Regions from separate parts of the Homo sapiens genome. Here regions 1, 2, 3, 4, 5 and 6 are each linked to region 7. Evidence: promoter capture Hi-C in 16 types of primary human blood cells and fetal thymus (Javierre and others, 2016). All regions are on one chromosome and are shown on one strand. The core of a region is centred on a gene start or on the middle of the fragment in contact, and the rest is flanking DNA. Distances in the headings are between cores, read along the strand shown.

Region 1 (3,112 bases), core at 270-2,769, 190 kb before region 7:
TGCCAATCTTGAAATGATCTACTTGGTTTATAGGGCTGCAGGAAGTGTGTTGGTGTTTTATTTTCTTCTTGTCATAAGTGTCATATTCAAAGATCCATAGGTTGAGCTGTTGGGTTGGACACATGAAATAGAGGGGACAAGATTTCATCTCTTTATTTCCCACCAACTACTGGCAGCCTTTACCTTGGGAACCACCTTGGCTATTTCTGCCAGGAAACACTATTGAGAGCTCCAGTCACTGCTGTTTTAAATGAGACTTTGGGAATTGAATCCCAGTTTCCCTGAGCCCACTCTTAATCCTTTCCTTCTACCAACTAGACGATATTCAGATGTGGTTGCCCTGAGATCAGTGCCATAAAAGAATTAAAATTGGCAGTTCCCTTCCACATTATTTGATCTTAATTACAGCTTTGTGAGAGAAGTAGAGCAGTTGTTATATTTCCTTTTTCTTGTGTTTTTCAGTTTTTGAAAAATGATTTCAGAGATAGGAAAATTGAGCGCTAGGCCAGGTGCAGTGGTGTGTACGTGTAATTCCAGCACTTTGGACGGCCAAGGTGGGCAGATCTCTTGAGCTCAGGAGTTTGAGATCAGCCTGAGAAACATGATGAAACTCGTCTCTACAAAAAGTAAAAAAGTATAGGTGGTGTGCACCTGTAGTCCCAGCTACTTGAAAGGCTGAGATGGGAGGGTTGCTTGAGTGTGGCAGGTTGAGGCTGCAGTGAGCCAGAATTGTGCCACAGCACTCCAGCCTGCGCGACACAGCAAGACCCTGTCTCAAAAAAAAAAAAAAAAAAAAAAAAAAAAGAGTGGCTCTTCTCAAGTCACAAAGCTTGTTAGAAGCAGAGACCTGAAGCAAGGCTTCTGATAACAAGGGCAAGCCTCTTTCTCTTCCACAAAGCCAGTCCTGAGCTGCAGGAGCTCATTGTCCTACATTGAGTACTTAAAAGGGAAAAACCAGTTTGGAGAATCTGCTGAACTGATCAAGACACAAAAGCTGTGAGGGCATCCTAGAGAAGCGGCAGAGATTTGGCAAATGGAAGAATTGATGGATTCTTTTTAAAAGTAGCTTTAAGAAGCCAGAGTCAGCTTATAGGTGTATGAGCCCTCCTAACATGCCACCAAAATATCATCAGTAATAAGGCAAAGATGGGAGCAAGTATTACACAAACGCTGAAACAGCAGCCTGCAGCCGAGCACTAAGTGGAGGTGCTGTATTAAAGAGTTGCTTGTCACAGGCTCCTGTGTAAAATAAGTGCCCAATGTTGACATTAAGGACATCTCTAAGTGCTCTGAAGCTGAGGGCTCTGTGAGAGCAGTCAGCACTTGGCTCATTCAGAGCACATTAGTCAAGGTTCTTGTTTGCCCCCAGACTTATTCCTGCTCCCCCACACTGAATGTTTATTGGCAGCTCCACTGAAAACAAAGGAAGAAAAGGAAAGAGTTTGCCACTTCTGTTATATATCAGCACATTACATTTGTTTGACGATTTGGAAGTGTCTCAGTTAACAAACTAAATCTGTTGGATCACCGTGAAATGAGGGGGTCTTCTGAAAGTATCTTGTATGTTTAATTTGTTTCTTCCACTCTCCTTCCCCTGTTTATGCTTTGCCTCAGCAAGTATGTCCTGAAGACCTACTGTGGTTTACACTATAGAAGATGCTGCTAGACCCACAGAGGAAATACAAATTGGGATTTCTGGGCCTTCAGAAGTTGAATTTTGGTGGGACAATAAGATGACCAACCCCCTGGGTGTTCATTGTAAGCTGGACAGGGGTAAAATACCCAATAAGGAAATGCTTTCTTCGGTTGTGAATTGAGTGCTAGGCACAGTGCTCTGTTCTGGGTACAAAAACAGATAGGATAAGATGGACCTTATCCCTAAAGGAGTTGATCGTCTGTTACAGTTTTTCAAGGTGAGATTCCCCCCACCACTTGCATCAGAATTCCCTGGGGTCCTGTTGAAGTATGCAGCTCAGATCTGTACAATCAAGACTCTTACAGGTAGGATCTTTGAATCTTAACTTGGTTAAGGTAGCACTCCAAGTGATTCTAAACACATTTAGGTTTGAGAATATCTAGTCTTTTAGAAGAGACAGAAAAGTGGGCCCTGAAAGGCTGATAACAAAGATGCCAGCGGTGTTTCAGGGCCAGTGTGCTGTTTGTCAGTTGCCTGTCTCCTTTGTTGTGATCAGATCATAAGGAAAGCTTCAGAAGCCTCATGAGGGGATGGAACACATTCACTTTTTGTTCTTCACCTGGTTGCTCTCGCAAAAGCAATAGTATTCTGCCATATTCCAGGTTCAGATTCTGCTGAGACAGGATCAGCCTTGAGAGTCTTCCAGGGTAGATCAGATGCTGTGTATCACTCTCTGTACCTAAAGGACAAGGCACAAAGCTTCATCTCTGTGGAACAATCAGTTTCGACGATTATTCATTCAGTGAACCAGGTGTTAAGTTGGGCATTGAAGATACAAAGCAGAAAAAAACAATGCCAACCCTCATGGTGTTTACAGTCTAGTGTCAGGACAGGGCCATAAATCGATGATTACAGTTTCACACAAAACTGACAGACAAAGATTTACCCACAGTAAAGCATATAGGTAAATCTTATATTAGTGGGTGTGAAAGGATTGTGCCTGCAGAGGACCAGGGAAAAGAAAGATGGCTTCTCTTTGGTCCTCCTTAGGGTTGCTTTGGCAGGAGAGAGTGACACCCACCTTTCTCAGCCCTCCCTTCTTCACCACCAGTCTAACACTGAGTAACAGGAATCCAAAAGAAGGTTGGGGAGGTGCAAGAAGGGACCCATGGGAAATTGACTCGCTCAGATGGTACCTTCCCAGAGAGGTCCACCATGACCTCATCTTCTAAAATGACTCTATTGTTCTCCTTACCATGCTGGATTTTTCTTCAGAGCATCTTTCATCTTCTGACATTGTAATTTATTTGGGTGTCTATCTCATCTACTAGTTTAGAAGTTGTGAGAGGCTTTGTCAGTTTTAGTCACTGTGTCCCCAGTGCCTGGAAAACGAGTTGGCACACAGCAAGTATGCAATAAAAGCGTACTGAAGGCAGCAGAAAGGCAGGTCCACACAGGTCCCATTTTTTAGCTGCT
Region 2 (3,019 bases), core at 298-2,797, 190 kb after region 7:
GTGAGGAGTAAGGTCCTGTACCACTGGCCAAGTGGCCTCTGTGCTTGAGCCCAGACATAGAGAAGGGAACTTCTCCTCCCCCTCCACCCACTGCTGCAGACACAGTAATTGCTGCTCCCATGGGAAGCTGGCACAAGAAACCAGAGGGCAGGCTATCTGAAGCTGTGAGGGGCAACTGCAGTTCCACTGGCAGTGGCCTCTGGGCCCAGGTTCATGAGAAAGGTGGGTCCTGTCCCACTCTCTGCCTAGAGTTTCAGGGGTCCTGCCATGGGGAGGGAGCAGAGTCTGCATGGCACCCATTTCCAGATAGCACAGAAGTGTACTGTCAAGCCATGGGGCAAGCATCTCCTGTAGTTCTAGGCTACATTGCAGCTTGGAGATAAACAGCAGTGTCTAAGAGAACTGAACAACCTGAGCACCAGAATAGGAGTGTGAGAGGGAAACATCACATTCCTGCCTGCTGAGGCCAGGGTGCTAAGACAGCTCATCACCTGGCCCACACCCCCCCATCCCACCCCTCTCCACAAGAGACCTCAGTGCATTTTACCAGTGGCCCAATGACTCCCCTCTCCCCTGCCACCCTTGTCAGGGCTGGTGCCTCTGCCAGTCATCAGAATATCTGAGCTTTCCCTGGCAAACAAAGGTCAAGCGTAAACCCCACTGTTACCACTGAAGCTGACTCATACCTGCAAATGCTACTTATTGGCCTGGAGATGAACTGCACAACCCAATCTGGTAACATAAATGCACACAATTTGGGAACAAGATACACTTCTTGAGACCTCTGCTACCCTGACTTACAGGAGGCTGTGAGCCTGCTCACAAGCCAAGTATACCACTATCACACCTGATGTTTGAGAAAGCCACCAAAGGCTATCTAAAACCAGGAAATTCATATAGAGTCTTTGCCACTAAAAGCACCCAGAAGCAAAGCCAAATGACCATATTCAACATACATTACAGTCACATCCTCAAGGGAAAACAGTCTCGTTCAAACAAAAATTAATTCAAACTGAGAAATGTGTTTTTCCAGATGAGAAAGAACCAGTGTAATAATTCTGGAAGTTTGAAAAAACAGGGTGTTACGATACCCTCAAAGGATCACACTAACTCTCTAGCAATAAATCCTAACCAACATTACTGAAATGCTAAATAATTCACAATATTGATTTTTAAGGAAGCTCAATGAGATTCATGGAAAATGTGAAAAACCAACACAAAGAAACAGAATATCAATTAAGGATATAAATGAAATCTTTTGAAAATAAAAAATTCACTGAAGGATTTACAAAATACAGATGAAAGCTTCAACAATAAACTAGATCAAGGAGAATAAACAATCTCAGAACATAAAGACAGGTCTTTTGAAGAAAGAAAAAAGAATGTTAAAGATGAACAAAGCCTTTGAGAAGTAGGAGACTACAATAAAATGTCTGGATCTAGGAATTGTAGGTATTCTCGAGAAAGAAAAGAAAAGAAAGCAAAAAGTTTGGAAAACCAACTTCTCTTGTCCAGCAAGTGATCTAGACATCCAGAGTAAGAGGCTCAATGAAACCCAGAAAAATACATTGCAAGAAGGGCCTCACCATGACATAGAGTCATCAGACTGTGTGGTCTCAGCAAGAGAAAAGCATTTGGACACCTACAAAGGAAACTCCATCAGACTAACAGCAGACTTCCTGGCAGATGACTTACAAGTCAGAAGAGACTGGGATTCTATTTTCAAAATAGGCTTAAAGAAAAAAAAAACTGTCAACCTGAAAATTTGTATCCTGCTAGAAAAAGCTTCAGGAATAAAGGAGATATAAAGTCTTTCCTAGAAAAACAATCATTGAGGGAATCTGTCATCACTAGACTGGCTCTACAAAAATGATCAAGGGAAGTCTAAACATGGAAATGAAGGGTCAATACTTGCCATCATAAAAATGTAAGAAAGTAAAAAATCCACAGGTCTTGTAAAATAATTACACCAACGAAACTACAAAGCAATGTGATAACAATTAACATTACTACAGGAATAAAACCTCACATATCAATATTTACCTTAAACATAAATGAGTTAAATGCTCTACTTAAAAGATAAAGATTGGCAGGACGAATTTAGAAAACAAGATCCAACTATATGCTGCTTACAATAAACTCACCTTAGTGGTAAAGAAACTTACAGACTGAAGAAAGGGGTGCAAAAAGATACTCCATGCAAACGGAAACCAAAAACAAGTAGGAGTAGCTATACTTAGATCAGATAAAGCTGACTTTAAATCAAAAACAGTAAAAAAATACACAAAGTTATTATAAAGGGATCAATTCAATAGAAAGACATAACAATCCTAAATATATATGTACCCAACACCAGAAGACCCAAACCCAGATTCATAAAACTAATATTACTAGACCTAAGAAAAGATATAAACAGCAATACAATAATAGTGGGGGACTTCCATATTCCACTGACAGCACTAGACAGATCATCAGGACACAAAACCAACAAAGAAACACCAGAATTAAATTGGACTCTAAACTAAATGTATTTGGCAGACATTTGCAGAACATTCTAGCCCCAAATAGCAGAATATACATTCTTTTTCATCATGCATGAAACATTCTCCAAAATAGGCCATATGGTATGCCACAAAACAAGTCTTAAAGAATTTTTTTTTAAATTGAAATCATATCAAGTATCTTCTTAAACCACAGTGAAATAAAGCTAGAAATCAATCCCAAGGGGGAATTCTTGAAGCTATACAAATACATGGAAATTCAGCAACATGTTCCTGAACGATCTTTGGGTCAACAACAAAATTAAGATGAAAATTTTAAAAAATGTTTAAATGAATGAAAAAGGAGATACAACATACCAAACCTCTGGGATACAGCAAAAGCAGTGCTAAGAGGAAAGTTTATACTGCTGTCTAAACACACACACACACACACACACACACACACACACACACACAAATTAACAACCTAATGTCACACCCAATGAAACAGAAAAACAAGAACTAAATCCAAATTTGAC
Region 3 (3,221 bases), core at 36-2,535, 240 kb before region 7:
GGCAAACTGTATTTTTAGGGACAGTCATACAGAAGTTTGATCAAAGGACAAAAGATCTAATGGTAATAAACTCAGGGGTAGGGGTACTTAGCAAGGCCTGTTTGTTCAGCATCATCTTGGCATCCCTGTGTGATATTTCTTTCCTCTGGGTATGGTGCAGGGCCCCTCTGGAATCGGGTCTTAATGATCTATTTTCTGGGGAAGGTGAGCTAGGTCTCATGGCTTGCTTTAGAGGAGGAGTAAGGGGAATTCTTCCTAGTTTCTATGGGCTGCTTCTCCTGTTCCCTCAAATGCCCAGGTACTGTGATTGGAGGTAGTGTGTCCTGAACATGCATCACCTTCTTAGACATGGGGTTTGTTAAGAAATGTGCTCAGGAATGTCGTTTGGATTCTTACCTGTTTGTTAATAATATATATGCATGCCACGTATCTGTATTTACACACACACACAGCCTTAGTCTGTCTGGTGCTGCTATAACAATACTACAAACTGAGTAATTTATAAAGAACAAAATTTATCACAGTTCTGGGGTCTGGGAAGCCCCAAGATCAAGACACTAGCATCTGGTAAGGGCTTTCTTGCTCTGTTTTCACATGGCAGAAGGTGGAAGGGCAAGAGAGTGAACTCACTCTCACAAGCCCTTTTCTATAGCAGCATTAATTCACGAGGGCTCTACCTTCATGGCCTAAACACCTCCCAAAAAGTCTGCCTCCCAACATTGTTGCATTAGGGGTTAAATTGCCAACACATGAATTTTAGGAGACACATTCAGACCATAACATGTTCATTTGTAAACAGATGGTTCCCAACTTACTTTTTTTTTTTAATCAGGGCAGCCTTCATTTTACAAAGCAGAATGAAAGCACCGCTACTTTTTTTTTTTTAACTTTCTGATATTGTGAAAGCAATATGCATTTGGTAGAAATCATACTTCAAATTGATTTTGAATTTTGACCTTTTTCCAGGCTAGGGATATGTGGTATGATACTCTCTTGTGATGCTGGACGGTGGCAGTGAGCCAGCAGCTCCTAGTCAGCCACCCAATCATGAGGGTAAACAACCTACACTTTACAGTGGACTGTGTTGCCAGATGATTTTGCCCAACTGTAGGCTAATGTAAGTGTTCTGAGCACATTTAAGGTAGGCCAGGCTAAGCTCTGATCAGTAGGCTAGTTGTATGAGATGCATTTTGACTTACAATATTTTCAGGTTACAATGGGTTTACTGGGATGTAACCCCACTGTAAGCAGAGGAGCATCTGTGTACGTATGTATGTCTTCTATAAAGATCTGTGCATATATGACCCAGCACTCACAAGTTCATGCACACACACATATTGTTTGATGACCTGCTTTTTTACACTTAACGCAACTCTGTGTCATTGCATATTCTCTGTAGTGTCATTGTAAGTGACACCATAGAATTCTTTTGTTTGGGTTTATGCTAGTTTATTTAATGAGTTATTCATTCAATGATTTCTTCTAGTTATTTAATGTTATAAATAATGTCAGAGACATTTTTGTGCCCATACTGTGTGTGGCTCTGTGTGTGTGAGTTCTTTTAACAAGGTTTACTGATTCAGACTTTGCTTGGTCTAAGTGCAAAGGATCACAGGCCTCTTATGGCCCCTTTACTATCTTTTGTAAAAATGTGTGTGTAGGTTAAAGGCCCAAAATATGGTTAGGATGAGGGTTATAACCATGATATTAAGCTCAGGCTCAAGATCCACCCAGTCTTGGGCGAATGACCTCGGGCTAGGTCTTAACCTCTCCAGGATGTAGTGTTCTCATTTGTAAATCAAATCGACTCCTGCTTTGTAAAATTGTTGGGGAGTAAGATCAGGTGTATGAAGTACCTGGTATGGGGCTGGCACATGGTAACCCCTAAGCCCATGTTAGTCCAGCTTGGGTAGTGGATTGTATTCATGCTGATACAATCTGAAAGTTCTGAAAGATCATAAAGGGCTTATAACAGATGGTGCTGTCCGTTGACCACTTATGCCTTTGTTCCTTAGTTTTCATGGGCGGACTAAAATAAAAAGAATAAAATAGTATGTACCCAGTAGGCATGACGAGCTTCATGGGCCTGTGACTTGTGCGGTCGCGGAGGGTGCCGTGCTTAGTTTAGTGCTCTGCTTAGTTTAATGCTCTGCTGTCCCTGTCTTGAAATTCTTGATTTTGAACACAGGCTCCCTGTTTCTGTTTTTCACCGGGCCCCACAAATGATGTAGCCAGTGTTGTCCAGAAGATTGTTAAGAGGGTGAAATTAGAACTCTCAAAGCACTGAGTGTAGTACTCAGGATATAATAGGATTCAATAATCACTAGGTGACTATAATAATTTTTTGTAAGCAGAAACAACTAAGTATATTAATAGACATTACATTATGAAAACAGCAGTGTGGGATATATAATTAATCTCATTTACAGATAAACTGAGGCCCAAGAAATTAAATAACCTGCTAAAACCACATTGCTTATGAAAGCAGAGCTTGGATTCACACCCAAATTCTTCTCACCCAAAGCACCACTGTTGACCTGACCTATTAAGTGTTAGTTCCCTTCATTCCTTCCCAGGAGAACCTCTCTGTAAAACCTCGTATTTAAGCTTCCTTGATACCCATCAGCACCCCAAGCCTTACTCCCAGCAGAATTTTCAGAGCCCCTCAAAGTGATCCAGAATTCCCACCAGACCTAGAAACTGTTGAGGCTACAGCAAATGGGAAGCACAGTTCTCCTGCTCACCCTCAGTCACCCTGTCTCATCCCATCCTGTCCTGTCCCCAAGCCTGCCCAGAATTACTTGCTCAGAGTTCCATATCTGGGCAAATATGACCAGCCTGGTGACAACTTAGCTTCCTTCCTTTGGTTCCTGAAAAACTTAGCATTGGATGACTACCATCTAACTAATACCTCCAGACCTTCATGAGAATCAGTGAGAGATCCGCCGGCATTGGGTCCTAGCAAAGTAGCTGTAAGAGATGCCTATGACCCATACACTGAGGACCTGACCATCTGCCTGGTGGCAGAGATCCCTTGCTTTCCTACACTGCCAGGCTGTGATTTGCTCTGCCCACTCTTTTCCCTGCCAGAAAAGAAAGAAGATCCATTCCACCATGCTGCTCAGAAGCAGGTAGACAGCTTCATGTGGGGAAGTTCTAGTGCAGGCCTGCTTGCAGCATGTGGCCTCTGAGTAGAGAAGTTAGTACGTGAGCATTGCGTC
Region 4 (3,035 bases), core at 127-2,626, 220 kb before region 7:
AGTTTTGTGTCTGTTCCTTGCTGGAGAGCTGAAAGCAGATCTCTCTGTAAGAGCCAGGAAGGCTGATAACAAAGATGCCAGCGGTGTTTCAGAACTAGTGTGTTGTCAGTTGCCTCTCTCCTTTGTTGTAATCAGATCATAAGGAAAGCTTCAGAAGCCTCATGAGGGGATGGAACACATTCACTTTTTGTTCTTCACCTGGTTGCTCTGGCAAAAGCTGTAGTATTCTGCCATATTCCAGGTTCAGATTCTGCTGAGATGGGATCAGCCTTGTCAGTCTTCCAGGGTAGATCAGATGCTATGTATCACTCTCTGTACCTAAAGGACAAGGCACAGAGCTTCATCTCTGTGGGACAATCAGTTTCAACTACTATTCATTAAGTGAACCAGGTATTAGGTTGGGCATTGAAGATACAAAGCAGAAAAAAACAGTGCCAACCCTCATGGTGTTTACAGTCTAGTGTCAGGACAGGGCCATATATGGATGATTACAGTTTCATACAAAACTAATAGACAAAGGTTTACCTACATTGAAGCTTTGTCATCTGGGGCAATTACTGAAAACATTTCAGGGTCTATTTTATCTGCTGAATTAGAATCTCTATGGATTCTGCATTTTTTAATAAGCACCCCAGGCGATTGCTGTATATCCTTAAACATTGACTTTGGGCAGCCCTAGAGTTTGTTACAATGGATATGAATAACAGTTTGCAGAAGTGGTCGGTTAAAGAGCGCTGGGCAGCCTGGGCTGTCAAAGTATTGTGACTCCTGGGCTGCTGGTGGTCTTTGCCCCTGGTTATCCCCTTGCTATTGCTTGGGAATGTCTTTGTCCACCTGCAGTGAGCCAGTGACTGTTCATAAGGTGCCAGTAGACTGGACTGGCAGTGGCTGATAAGGGATGGTAAAGCCTTCAGGTGCAACGGTGGGTCAGGGTCAAATTAGGCCTCCTCTTTTTCCTTTTTGTGCCCATAACCTGGATAGTCCAGGCTTCACACATAGTATAAATACATGGGATAGGTCAGGAGACCATGCTGCCCAGGGCATTTAACTTAATGGTTTCTGATTCCTGCTCATCTTCAGTAAATGCTACACACCCCATCTCCAAGGCCTGATCCTCTGGGTCACATTGGATCACCCTATAGAAAACTGGGCACCTAGGTATGAAAATTTGGAGTCTGAGTTTATTGCACCTGAGCACTTTGAACGTCAAAGCTCAGGTTAAATCTAATTCTATAGTGATCTTGTACATCTGCAGTATTGTTAAGAGACAACCCTAGTTTTCAACCCTAGGAGTACTGGTATGTTTTAACTTCTATGCGACTGACCATTATAAAAACCTAGAATGTGAAGATGAGCTTAAATTTTTTTTTTACAATTTAATTTTAGGAAGAGAATTAATAATTAAACATTCTTTTGCATCTCATGCCATTTTGTGGCATTTATGCAGATTCCTAGCTCTTCACAGAGGCACAGAGAAGCGTGGTTAAGAGTGTAACTGTTGGGACAGACCTGAAGTGAGCTTGACCCCTATTTCCTCCCAGATATATGACCTCTCTTATGCCTCCATTTTCTTATTTGTGTAATGAGGATAATGTTTCTATCTAGCTTACAGTGTTACAGTGAGGATTATGTAAGTTTTTAAAAATATAAATCCTTAGTGCCTGGAACAAAAAGATTGCATAATAAACATTGGGGTATGTGAAAATCCGTTAACTGCTGGGCGTGAGGTGACAGCAGAAAATTTAACAATGGCTGCCTTTGCTCTCCATCCTCTGAAACAACAGGGCCACCTGGATGCAGGAGCTAAGAGTGTGGTATTCCTCCCTTTGGTAAATATCGACAGCTGTTACTCAGGCCTGCGCTTCTTGCCTTGGCGGCCTGAATAATATGGGGGTTAGTAGAAGATTTCAGAAGAGTATGGGAAGCTACAAGATAAGCCTCTATTTCACCTGAAAATTTTGGGAGTGAGGTAGAAGGACTTCATTTGTAGGCTTGTGCAAAACTCTCATGGTTTTTAAAGATAAAACAGAAGACTCAAAGCACTGATACTTGAGATCTGCACCGTGTAATGTTATCAGTTCAAAGGCACTTGGGTGGAAAGCCTTGAAATGATGTAGCATAGGTTAAAGTCCCTGCATGTGGCTTCTCCCAGGGGACACTGCAGGACTCTGCTCCATGATATGAATATCCATCTGAGCAGAGTGGGAGAAGCTTCGTGAGGGAAAGCCGCAAGGGCCGACACAGAGGAACTGCCTGTGCAGCAGAAACCCTCTTTGTAATTAATAATCTGTTTGCTATTTTCACCCCACCATTTGTAGCTATGGGGTCCATTTTGTTCATATCCTGATTTGTATATATTGACTTGATCTCATACAGTATAAAGGGAATGTCAATGAAATTCATGTTTATTTCAGAATAAATGGTCTCTGAGAAAGCTGAAATCACTTCACATTTGTGTGCTCATGAAGTAAGGGTCTCTGATTCATATCGGTGGAGAGAGCTAAATGTTATTGATTAGAATATGAAGCTGTTACGGCCAAGTGTGAATGCACACCAAGTGGATACTGAATCAGAAATAATTTCCAAATCTGGAATTTCCTTAAGAGTCATTCATAATGTTTTATCCTGAAATATTATTAGTTCTGTTTTATACATACACATGATTACTTTTTTTAAAAATACTGATTTTTTTCCAAGTGCATCCTTTTCTGCTGCTGAACTCAGCCTACGAATCAAAAGGTGACTTTCACTTTGTTTACTTTATTCTACTCCGTATACCCAGCACCTGTGCCAGTGCCCGGCACCTACTAGGTGCTCAGTAAATACTTGCAAATGAATCCAATAGAACCCATTGTTTTTATCTGGTCAAAGCCTGAGCTCCTAATTTGGAAGCTACTTAGAGCAGGTTCTGTTCTTCTACCAAACTTTGAGCTGTGGGTAGGGACCCATTCACAGGATTGTGAAATCAGTTTAGTATATGGAGAGCAGCATTTTAAACAAATTGAATAGCACAGGATAGAAAGAAAATATCGGTG
Region 5 (3,234 bases), core at 40-2,539, 180 kb after region 7:
TGGTATTGGTTTATGGCTTCCCTAAATATTTGGTAGAATACACTGGTAAAGCTTTCTTGGCCTGAAGCTTTCTTTGTGGGAAGGTTTTCAATGACTCAATTTCTTTAATCACATAGGTGAATTCGAGTTTCCTATTTCTTACTGTATTGACATTTTAAAGTTCTGTTTGTCTAGAAATTATCCACTTCATCTAAATTTTCAAATTTACATAAAACTGTTCAAAACATAATCTTTTCAAAAAAGTCTTTAGACTCTGCTATGATGTTTCCTTTTTCATTCGCAATATAGGTTATTTGTGCCTACTCTCTTTTTATTCTTAAACAATCCTGCCAGGACTCATCTTTACTTTACTGGTCTAATTTCACTGCTCTCTACAATGACTGAATTTTGTTCATTTAATGTAGGTTTGTTTTCTATTTTGTTAATGTCTACATTATAATGTTTCTTCTTAAGTTCAATTTCCTTAACTTGTTGAGACAATAGATTTTCACTTTCTTTTCCAATATTTGCACTGAAGCTATAAAATTCCTTCTGAGAATTTCAGCCAATCTTTTAAGTTGTATTTTAATTATTATTCAGTTTAAAATATGTCTAATTTTCATTCTTCTCTTTGCCTCAAGGATTACTTAAAAGTATATTTTTCCATTTCTAGATAGTTGGGGGATAATCAGGTTATCTCTTTGTTACTGATTTTAGCTTAATCCCACTAATGACAGAAAATACAGTGAACAATTTCTATCATTTGAAGTTTACTGGAATTTTGATAACCCAGAATATGGTCAATTTTGCTTAAAAATTCCACTTAATAGAAATGTGTATTCTGCAATGACTAAGTACAATGTACATGTCAATTAGGTTATGGTGGTTAATCATGTTGTTCAAATCTTAATTACAAGCTCACTCATGTAGCTGTTGGCAGCCTCTGTTCCTCATTATGTGAGTCTCTCTATAGGGTAAGTTAAGGGCAAAGTTATGGCTTCGCCCAGAGTGAGTGATCCGAGGGGAGGGGATGAGGGAGGTATGTGCACTCCCAATAGAAGTACAGGCATCCATTAAGGACTAATCTCAGAAGTGACATACCACCACTTCTGCCACATGCTACTGACTGCATAGACCAACTGTCGTACAATGTGGGAAAGGATTACACCAGACTAAGGATTCTAAGAGGTCACAATCACTGGGGAGCATCTTTGAGGCTGGCTACCACAGTCTACCCCCTGGCCCCCAATGATTCACAGTTCCTTCCCCCAAAATACAAAATACACTCAGTTCTTCCAAAGGCCCCAACTAGTCTCAATTCATTTTAGCAACCTGGAGTTCAGAAATTTGTCATCTATAATTGACAAATTATAAATTTTCTATAAGCCTTTGAAGACATATATTCCGAGACCCCTAGTGGATGCCTGAAACTACAAATAGCACACTAATCCCTATATTCACTATGTTTTTTCCTTTACAAACATACATACCTATGACGAAGTTTAATTTATTAATTACGCACACTAAGAGATTAACAATAGCTAATAATAAAATAGAACAATTAGAACAATATACTATAATAAAGGTTATGTGTATGTGGTCTCTCAAGGTAGCTTATCATATTGTACTCACCCTTTTTCTTGTAATGATATGAGATGATTAAATGTCTACCTGATGAGAAGAGGTGAAGTGAATGATGTACATTGTAACGCTGCATTATGCTACTAATGCCCTTCAACAAAGCACTGTGACAGTAGATTGATAACCAAGATGGCTACTAAGTGACAAACGGGAAGGTAGTGTATAGTGTCCATGGGGAGGACATGGAGTGGGATGGCATCATGTTACTCAGAATGGTGCACAATTTAAAACTCACGAATTGTTTATTTCCAGAATTTCCCACTTAATATTTTTGGACCATGGTTGCTTGCAGGTAACTGAAATCGCGGAAAGCAAAACCATAGATAAGGGGGACTACTGTAGTGCCTCTTGATGTATAGGCCTGTGAACTAAGAGACAAGTTTTCTGCCCCCCATACACCCAAAATAAAACAATGAAGCACACAGAACATAGCCTTTTAAATATTCCTGTTTTGTAAGAGGGGAAATAGGACGTACAAAGGAATCAATGGTCCATAACGATTATGAAATCTACCTGGACAAATACTAGAAATTCCTTGACTGGAACTCAGTTCTACCCTTGCCTGAAAATTATTCTATCTAACATTTGGTTCTGTTCTCTGAGTCATCCTTTTTTCATGCATTAGCACATGCTTGAAGTTAAGTAAATTTTCAGCCTGATTCCTACTTATTGGAGTTTGGGAGGTCAAAGGCGTCTTTCATTTAATACTGCTTCTGCAGTCCAAAATGGCAGTGGTTCTGCGAGGTAATTCGAAAACAATGTAGGTCTCCACTGGATCTTACTGGAGTTCATTCCATTAGACAAAAGCCATATCCACAAATGTTCTGTAGGATAAGTCCTCTCTACTTTGGCTTTATGCTGAGAAAGCTAAGGGGTTGCCCGTAAGCTTCTTGAAGCCCTCCTGTTCTTAGAAGCCACATATTGAGAAGACACCCTTAATATTAATTAATATTACTACTGACAGGACAACCTCTAAGTTAACCCTTAAATACTTTATAGGGCCTTTTGTCTGAATAGTACTGTGAGGCATGACCTTTGATTTTTCTGAGGTAACTTACAGTCACACCCTTGGCTGCCAGATTAGATCACACTTTTTTTCTGAGAATACTCTGAGTTTTATCTTTGCTCAGAAACACTGCTTAGTATTAGCACCGTTTGCCATCTGGAGGGACTAGGAATCTTCAAAACTAGTAAATATTGGCTCTGTTTTATTGAACAATCCTTTCTTTAGTGTATTTCTCTTCTCTCACATCTGACTATAACCAACACAAAAAGAAACTAGGCAGTACTTTTAACACTTTGGCAGACCTATAATTTCATTAAATACTATCTTTAACCTTTCAGTTTACTGCAGGCAACATGTTGCTAAACTTACTCTACCACTGTATAACAAAGACCACTTTCTACCAGTTTCCAGTAAGACTTTCCTCACTTCAAGTTCTCACTGGCAGCTATCTCAAAGTCTAGTAATCTACTAACGGTTTGTTTAAGGCCCTTTAAGCTTTCATTGATACTCTTAAAGTTCTGACAACCTCTATTCACTGTCAGCTCCAAAGCCACGCCACATTTCAAGTTTTCATATCAGCACCTATTTACAGGTACCATGATTAGTAT
Region 6 (3,466 bases), core at 725-3,224, 170 kb before region 7:
GAGAAATTCACAACGGTGAAACACTGTCATTGAAACAAAGTAATTCACTAAATGGATAGTAAACTGCTAAAGGGAGTTAGTGAATTGAAAGATATCGCAGAGAAGTTGAAATCTGCAAGGTAAAATAAGATCTAATAAGAGTTTATGGAGAATATCTACAAAATAGAGGAGAGGCAATATCCAAAAAGTTGATGGCTGAGAATTTTTCAGAAGTTTTCAGTTTGAAAGAGTAAAACTAATTTCTTACCATGATAAGTAAAAAGCTCCTTTTTGTTATGTCTTAGTGGTACTTCATATCAGCAACAAAAACACAAAAACTTGAAAAGCTATCAATGACAAAAGCCATTTACCTATAAAGGAATGATAAAAGACAGACTTCTCAAAAAGAGTAGAAGTCAGAAGTAAGCAGAATAATGTCTTCAAACTGCTGAGGGAAAATAACAGACAATCTAGAATTGCATAACAATAAAGCTATCAGCCAAAATCAAAGGTAAAAATAAAGATTTTCTTAATCCAAAGACTAGGTGAGCTTACCACTCACAGACCATTGTTAAAAAAATTACTAAAAATGTAATTCAATGGAAGGAAATTAAATCCAGAAGCAAGGAGTAGTTTCATAAAAAGCAAAGAAGTTAGTATGTTGGTTTATTTATGTAAGTGTAGATTGTAAATGATAATGATTAAGGCAGGCTCAAAAAAAGGTGAATTAAAATAATAGGCAGTAACATGGAAAATGAAAGAAGGCATTCTAAGGTCCTTTTATTTTCAGGAGGACAGAAATACGATTAACTTATATACTAAAAATTTAACATAACTGATAATAGAAATAACACTTCCAATCCAGTTGGGGGAGGGGAATATTAAAGCTATCCACCTGACAGAAAACAAGAAAGAAGGAAAGAAGCACATAATAAATTAAAAACACAAAATAAGTTTTCATATGTGTGTGTATATATGACTGCAAAATATAGGTACAGGTCTACCAGTTTTTGCAATAAACAAAATTATCATCTTAGTGACTATATGGATTTTGTTTTAATTAGCCATGTGCTACTAATAAAATACACTTAAAATAATGCAAAGTTTATTAGCTGGGCATGGTGGAATATGCCTTAGTCCTAGCTACTTGGGAAGCTGAGGTGAGAGGATCACTTGACCCCAAGACTTCAAGGTTACAGTGAGCTATGATTATGCCACTGCACTCCAGCCTGGATGACAGAGCGAGGCCCTGTCTCTGAATAATAATAATGCAAAGTTTAGAAGTCCTACACTGCCCTGTGGATTTCATAATTGAACAATATCAGGGTGTGAAAGTGGCATTGAAAAACACTATGATTTCTTGCCTAAGAGACCAGGATACCATTAACTAAGGATGATAGCTGGGGATGTTCCACTTTGGAAGTAAAAAGAAATTAATGATCATTGAGTTCTTCCTAAGTCTTAGTTAGGGCCTACAAAGGAAATTAAGAAGGAGCATCAGAGAGAAGGACTTGTGCTGTGTGTCATGGAAGCCCAGTCACAGGAGAACTTGGAGTGGGTTATGGCATGGGAGCCCCAGAAAGAAAGGAGAATTCAAGAACAGAGATTTTTAAGGATAAAATAATCAGCAGTATTTGTGCTGAACACAAAGGGTTAAGCAGAATAAGTATTGAGAAGCCACCCTTGGATCAAGCTTTAAGAGGACAGATTAGTAGAGTATTGGGCCTACTGGTAAGAGACAAAGGAAGAAAATGGGAAGTAATAAATTGAGAAAGCAAGAGTGGATTTTCCCTCAGGAAGTTAAGCACCTAAGGGAAAACAGAGTGGATGGTGAAGAGAGAACCAATCTCAAAGGAAGTTATCTTGGAATAGGAAATAACCATATTGAAGAATGAAACCTTAATTACCTACAGCCCTCAGGGAAATGAGTTTCCTGGGTAGCCATCTTTTCTAGGTGACCTAATCCTTGCTTTTTAAAAATACCAAGCTAATTTTGACCATTTAAAAAATATGCAAAGTCACTAGTAATAGCAGCATCAGGGTGGTCTCTTGTTCATCTTTCATGACTCTAATAAAGCCAGTCATTTCTCCATGACTGCAGGACCTGTTGAGGCCTGTTTGGAGCTTAAAATAGCCATAAAGAGTTGTGTTTTGAGTTCCTGTATCTGTTTTTTGACATCTTTGAGTGTCTGTCTATCTCTTTTTCCATGTCTCATGGGTAATGTGCTGACGTAGTAACAAGGTTTAAGGGAGGCACATTTCACACGTAAGTGTGAAAACTCAAACATCAAGCTTATGAACTACAAAAGGATTGAGTATCTTTTATTGTCAGGCATATTTTCTCATAGCATACCATAATTTTCTATGTCTAGTCAGCTCATACCTGGGTTAAGGTGTGTTCAGGCCTGATAGGCAAATAAACTTAGCCAGGTTTCTGAACCTAAAAAGCTCAGGTGCAGACTGATCAATCACCAGGATAATAAACATCACTCTGGTGTGGCTGGTGGCCTTTCCCCATGTGTTTATGTCTCATATACAATTTAATATAAAACTAAGAGTAAGCTGGGGTGATATGGTTTGGCTCTGTGTCCCCACCCAAATCTTATGTCGAATTGTAATCCCTACATGTCAGGAGAGGGACCTGGTGGGAGGCAATTAGATCATGGGGACCGAGTTCCCCCATGCTGTTCTTACGATAGTGAGTGAGTGAGTTCTTACGAGATCTGATGGTTTAAAAGTGTGGCATTTCCCCCCTTCACTCACTGTCTCCCGCTGCCATGTAAGACATGCCTCGCTTCACCTTCACCATCCGGCATGATTTTAAGTTTCCTAAGACTTTCCCAGCCATACGGAACTGTGAGACAATTAAACCTCTTTTGCTTATAAATTACCCAGTCTCAGGTAGTTCTTCATAGCAGTGTGAGAATGAGGTGAGCAGCTGAGAGGCTTTTCTGACTATAGTGTATGAGCTGCAATATGTCGATTTTCAGATATTTACTTAGCTCTTCAGCCAAAGATCTCTTTGGAGGCCTTTATTTCCTGATCTCAAGAGGAGGAGAACCTCAGGACGAACTGTTTGCATCTTCCCTCAAGAATAACTTAAAGATTTCTGCCTCAAAGATGATAATTCTCTCAATACAGATAGAAAAAATTATTCACCTACTACCCCATCCTCTAGAAGGAAAGGTATTTATTTTGTATTGACTATAATATCCTTTCTGCTGTAGTGTATGTTACACTTCTGTCTGCTATCTGGGCTGTACAAATAGACTTGATCCTCAAAGACTGAACAACTTGGAATCTTCACAATCCTGGGATCATTTGTTAGAGGACTTGTTCTTAAATAATGTAACAATGATGCAGTTCTCAACATGAAAGTCTGTGAATTTTAGCAAAAGAAATGGAGAGGCTTCTGGGGTTCTGAATTCCATAACTCACAGCTCTGAAGGCGAGACTACTGAAACATTCCAAGTAGAGAAAGGTCACT
Region 7 (3,138 bases), core at 162-2,661:
ATTTTTCTTACTCATCTTAAGAGTAATTTATTAGACATTTTACTTGGGATAGAATGCTGGAATAACAGTGATCCTCTGAGGAAATCAGTCTTTTTTTAAAAAAAGTCTTCCACAAACTATAAAACCAATAAAAATTTGTATTATTGGAGAATAATTAAGGACTTACCACGGTATCAACAATGATATTAGCAACAGTAAATATTTTAAATATTTACAGTGATATTCTAATACGATTGGCCTATGGTAAGTCTCCAACATAAAAATATCCAGGTCATCATTTTTCTTTAAACACCAATTTCCCCACAGTAGCTAATCTGCCTAATGTACATCTCCCATTAAAACCCACATGCTGGCCGGGCGCAGTGGCTCACGCCTGTAATCCCAACACTTGGAGAGGCCGAGGCGGGAGAACCCCGAGGTCAGGAGTTCGAGACCAGCCTAGCCAACATGATGAAACCCTGTCTCTACTAAAAATACAAAAATTAGCCAGATGTGGTGTTGGGCACCTGAAATCTCAGCTACTCGGGTGGCTGAGGCAGGAGAATCGCTTGAACCCAGGAGGCAGAGGTTGCAGTAAGCCGAGACCACACCATTGCACTCCAGCTGGGATAACAAGAGCAAAAGTCCATCTCAGGAAAAACAAACAGACAAACAAAAAAAACCCACTTGCCAGCCTTCCTAACCCTACCATGTGCACCTCTGCCTTTACCCACCACTTTCACTATACCACTTCTCAATATGCACACAGAGCATTATTTACTTCTGTGCATAATGTTATAAAACTATTGGGTGTTTTGATAAGACTGTTCAAAATCAGGGAAAAAGCTGTGGGAAACAGATGTAATTGAGGAGCGCTTATGCTAAGGGCAAATTTCCAGCAAAGCTGGATAGCCTAAGTGAAATCCACTCTTGCCCCCGATCCTTAATCTGACCCCAAAAATCTTAATTTCATTTCATAACACTCTGAAATCCCACCAGTTACAGATTTACTGGTATCCCTTTTAAAAAATGTAAAGTATATGAAAGTTAAAGAGATTATTTACTATTTGGACTCTGTAAATTAATTTAATAGGACTACTTTCCTCATAGATTAGCTGAGATCAACAGCACTACTGGAACTGGAAATGCAGATTAAAGGATCACTGAAGCAAGCACTGGTTACATATGTAATACTTGGGAGTAAGTGGCTAACGTGGAAACCTGGTGATACCATGGTAGCACACTGTAGCAGGAAGAACATGGGCTCCTGAACACTCCTGGATTTTAATCTGGTTCTATCACCTTTCCTGTGACCTTGGGCAAGTAACTTAACCTCTTCACATCTCAATTAGCTCTACTATCAAATAAGATAATATTTCCCCACAAGGTTGTTATGTAAGATAGAATGACACAAGTGCCTTGCATATAACAGATTCTTAAAAAAAAAAAAAAAAAAAAGCCAGTTTACCTCTTTTCCATGTTCATTATTGAGGCAAGAACAAAAGGCACCAAGGAAGAGAAAGGAGTGGACTGGGTAGAAAAGAAGGATGCCAAAGAGAAACTCCTGAAAATTCCTCCTTGAAAATCAGGTTCAATCAAGAGAAGGTAAGAAAACATTTTTGTTTTCTTTTCTCTACTTCACTCTCATTCTTTTTTCATGATCATACTGCCTTAATCCCAAGACTCAAAATTCATACGGTACAACTAAATACAGAAGACTATGTTATGAACTGTTCGTATTATATTAAAGAGAAAGTAGATCACAGAAGGTGGACTGAGAACAAATCTTTCATTCAATACAATGGAACAAATATTACTGAATGCTTTTTATGGTGTGTCTCAGGTGATTAGCAGGAAGTGGAGGAGAATGCGAAGATGAGTAAGAAAAAATTCCTTGCCTTTAAGGAGTCAGTAGTGTTAAGCTTTCTGATTTCAGAGAATTTTTGTAGCATTCGTCTCTGGGAAATACAGTCAGTTCATAAGTTATGGACTTTTGCCCATTCTGTTTCATTATGAATAGCATATGTTAGGGCATGAGGAAGAGATGTTACAGAAAACTGATGGCTTTTACAATAAAGATTCTACTTTTACTATTAGTCAAATTTTTGTTTATTATTAAATTTTTAATACAAAAAATTACCTGCCAAAATTTCAGTGTTTCGTGCAGCAATTGTTTTAACTTTTATTATTCCTGATTCAGCAGCCTGCAAGAATAAAAATAATTAGAACACAAAATTTACTGCCAAAATGAATTATCTATGGAAAATAAGTCATATGTGATAGACAAAATATCAAGCACAAAGTCAGTCACTACCCTACCACCTTTTTAATTTTCAAACCATCAGATACTAAGCCCAGTAGTGACATATACGTTAAATGTAATAAAACATGATTAATTTGATTATTCACATGCAAACTCTGAATGCACTACAACATGTTGCCTTCCTCTGCCTTAAGGCATTATCTGGAATACCTCAATCCCCTGCAAAGTTAAATTTTCCGAGAATAAAAATAACAAACAAAAACAAAATCTACTGAAAATAATTAGGCTCCTTTTCCCCATTTCAAGCCTCCTCTCTCTCCACCACACACAAAAAAATTATAGAACACTGCAAAATCAAGTAAAACTACTGTGTTGGATTTATTTATTTATTGTTGATGGAGTTTTTTGCTCTTGTTGCCCAGGCTGGAGTCCAATGGCACGATCTTGGCTCACTACAACCTCCGCCTCCCTGGTTCAAGCCATTCTCCTGCCTCAGCCTCCCAAGTAGCTGGGATTACAGGCACCCACCACCATGCCTGGCTAATTTTTGTATTTTTAGTAGAGTGTTTTATTTTTGTACTTTTTGTATTTTTAGTTGGCCAGGCTGGTCTTGAACTCCTGACCTCAAGTGATCCACCCATCTCAGCCTCCCAAAGTGCCAGGATTACAGGCATGGGCCACCGTGCCCAGACCTGTGTTGGATTTTAAAAGCTACTTTGTTTTCTTTTTTGAGAATGGATAACCAAACACTTCATTAACCGTAGTATGTTTAGCGGGCAGTACTGGCAAGTCACATAGTATTTTACAGAATGCCACAGAACTGCACTGTCCAATTTGGTAGCCATTTGGCTACATGTGGCTATTAAGCACTTGAAATGTGGCCAGTCTGAATTGAG

Evidence for each region. The method cuts DNA at HindIII sites, captures the fragments that hold promoters and counts their contacts. A CHiCAGO score of 5 or more calls a contact.
Region 1: a contact is called between a fragment that was not itself captured here and the fragment with the promoter of MON2-AS1 in region 7, in 1 of 17 cell types (non-activated CD4 T cells). The highest score is 5.0, in non-activated CD4 T cells.
Region 2: a contact is called between a fragment that was not itself captured here and the fragment with the promoter of MON2-AS1 in region 7, in 4 of 17 cell types (naive B cells, non-activated CD4 T cells, total CD8 T cells and 1 more). The highest score is 6.6, in naive B cells.
Region 3: a fragment that was not itself captured here is called in contact with the fragment with the promoter of MON2-AS1 in region 7 in 5 of 17 cell types (naive CD8 T cells, non-activated CD4 T cells, naive CD4 T cells and 2 more); the score reaches 6.6 in naive CD8 T cells.
Region 4: a fragment that was not itself captured here is called in contact with the fragment with the promoter of MON2-AS1 in region 7 in 1 of 17 cell types (naive B cells); the score reaches 6.3 in naive B cells.
Region 5: a contact is called between a fragment that was not itself captured here and the fragment with the promoter of MON2-AS1 in region 7, in 7 of 17 cell types (naive B cells, total CD8 T cells, total B cells and 4 more). The highest score is 7.3, in naive B cells.
Region 6: a contact is called between a fragment that was not itself captured here and the fragment with the promoter of MON2-AS1 in region 7, in 1 of 17 cell types (total B cells). The highest score is 5.6, in total B cells.

What each region holds. Positions count from the first base shown.
Region 1 is chr12:62,671,408-62,674,519 of GRCh38, reverse strand. All of the region lies in intron 8 of PPM1H (protein phosphatase, Mg2+/Mn2+ dependent 1H), which reads left to right. Among named protein-coding and RNA genes, the nearest start is that of MIRLET7I, 69 kb to the right of the region's middle. The HindIII fragment of the contact is 1,376 bases long and covers 832-2,207 here.
Region 2 is chr12:62,289,636-62,292,654 of GRCh38, reverse strand. All of the region lies in intron 1 of USP15 (ubiquitin specific peptidase 15), which reads right to left. Among named protein-coding and RNA genes, the nearest start is that of USP15, 31 kb to the right of the region's middle. The HindIII fragment of the contact is 480 bases long and covers 1,308-1,787 here.
Region 3 is chr12:62,720,966-62,724,186 of GRCh38, reverse strand. The region is part of intron 5 of PPM1H (protein phosphatase, Mg2+/Mn2+ dependent 1H); the gene reads left to right. Among named protein-coding and RNA genes, the nearest start is that of MIRLET7I, 120 kb to the right of the region's middle. The HindIII fragment of the contact is 2,649 bases long and covers 1-2,609 here.
Region 4 is chr12:62,705,165-62,708,199 of GRCh38, reverse strand. The region is part of intron 6 of PPM1H (protein phosphatase, Mg2+/Mn2+ dependent 1H); the gene reads left to right. Among named protein-coding and RNA genes, the nearest start is that of MIRLET7I, 100 kb to the right of the region's middle. The HindIII fragment of the contact is 1,675 bases long and covers 539-2,213 here.
Region 5 is chr12:62,306,278-62,309,511 of GRCh38, reverse strand. The region is part of intron 3 of USP15 (ubiquitin specific peptidase 15); the gene reads right to left. Among named protein-coding and RNA genes, the nearest start is that of USP15, 47 kb to the right of the region's middle. The HindIII fragment of the contact is 2,439 bases long and covers 70-2,508 here.
Region 6 is chr12:62,650,000-62,653,465 of GRCh38, reverse strand. All of the region lies in intron 9 of PPM1H (protein phosphatase, Mg2+/Mn2+ dependent 1H), which reads left to right. It overlaps LOC124903103 (small nucleolar RNA U13), which reads right to left and starts at 2,291; the gene lies at 2,188-2,291. RefSeq lists an enhancer at 1-97. The HindIII fragment of the contact is 599 bases long and covers 1,675-2,273 here.
Region 7 is chr12:62,483,215-62,486,352 of GRCh38, reverse strand. It overlaps MON2-AS1 (MON2 antisense RNA 1), which reads left to right and starts at 1,411. Exons shown (of 2, transcript NR_186172.1): 1 at 1,411-1,584. It overlaps MON2 (MON2 regulator of endosome-to-Golgi trafficking), which reads right to left. Exons shown (of 35, transcript NM_015026.3): 2 at 2,120-2,183. The HindIII fragment of the contact is 7,471 bases long and covers 1-1,903 here.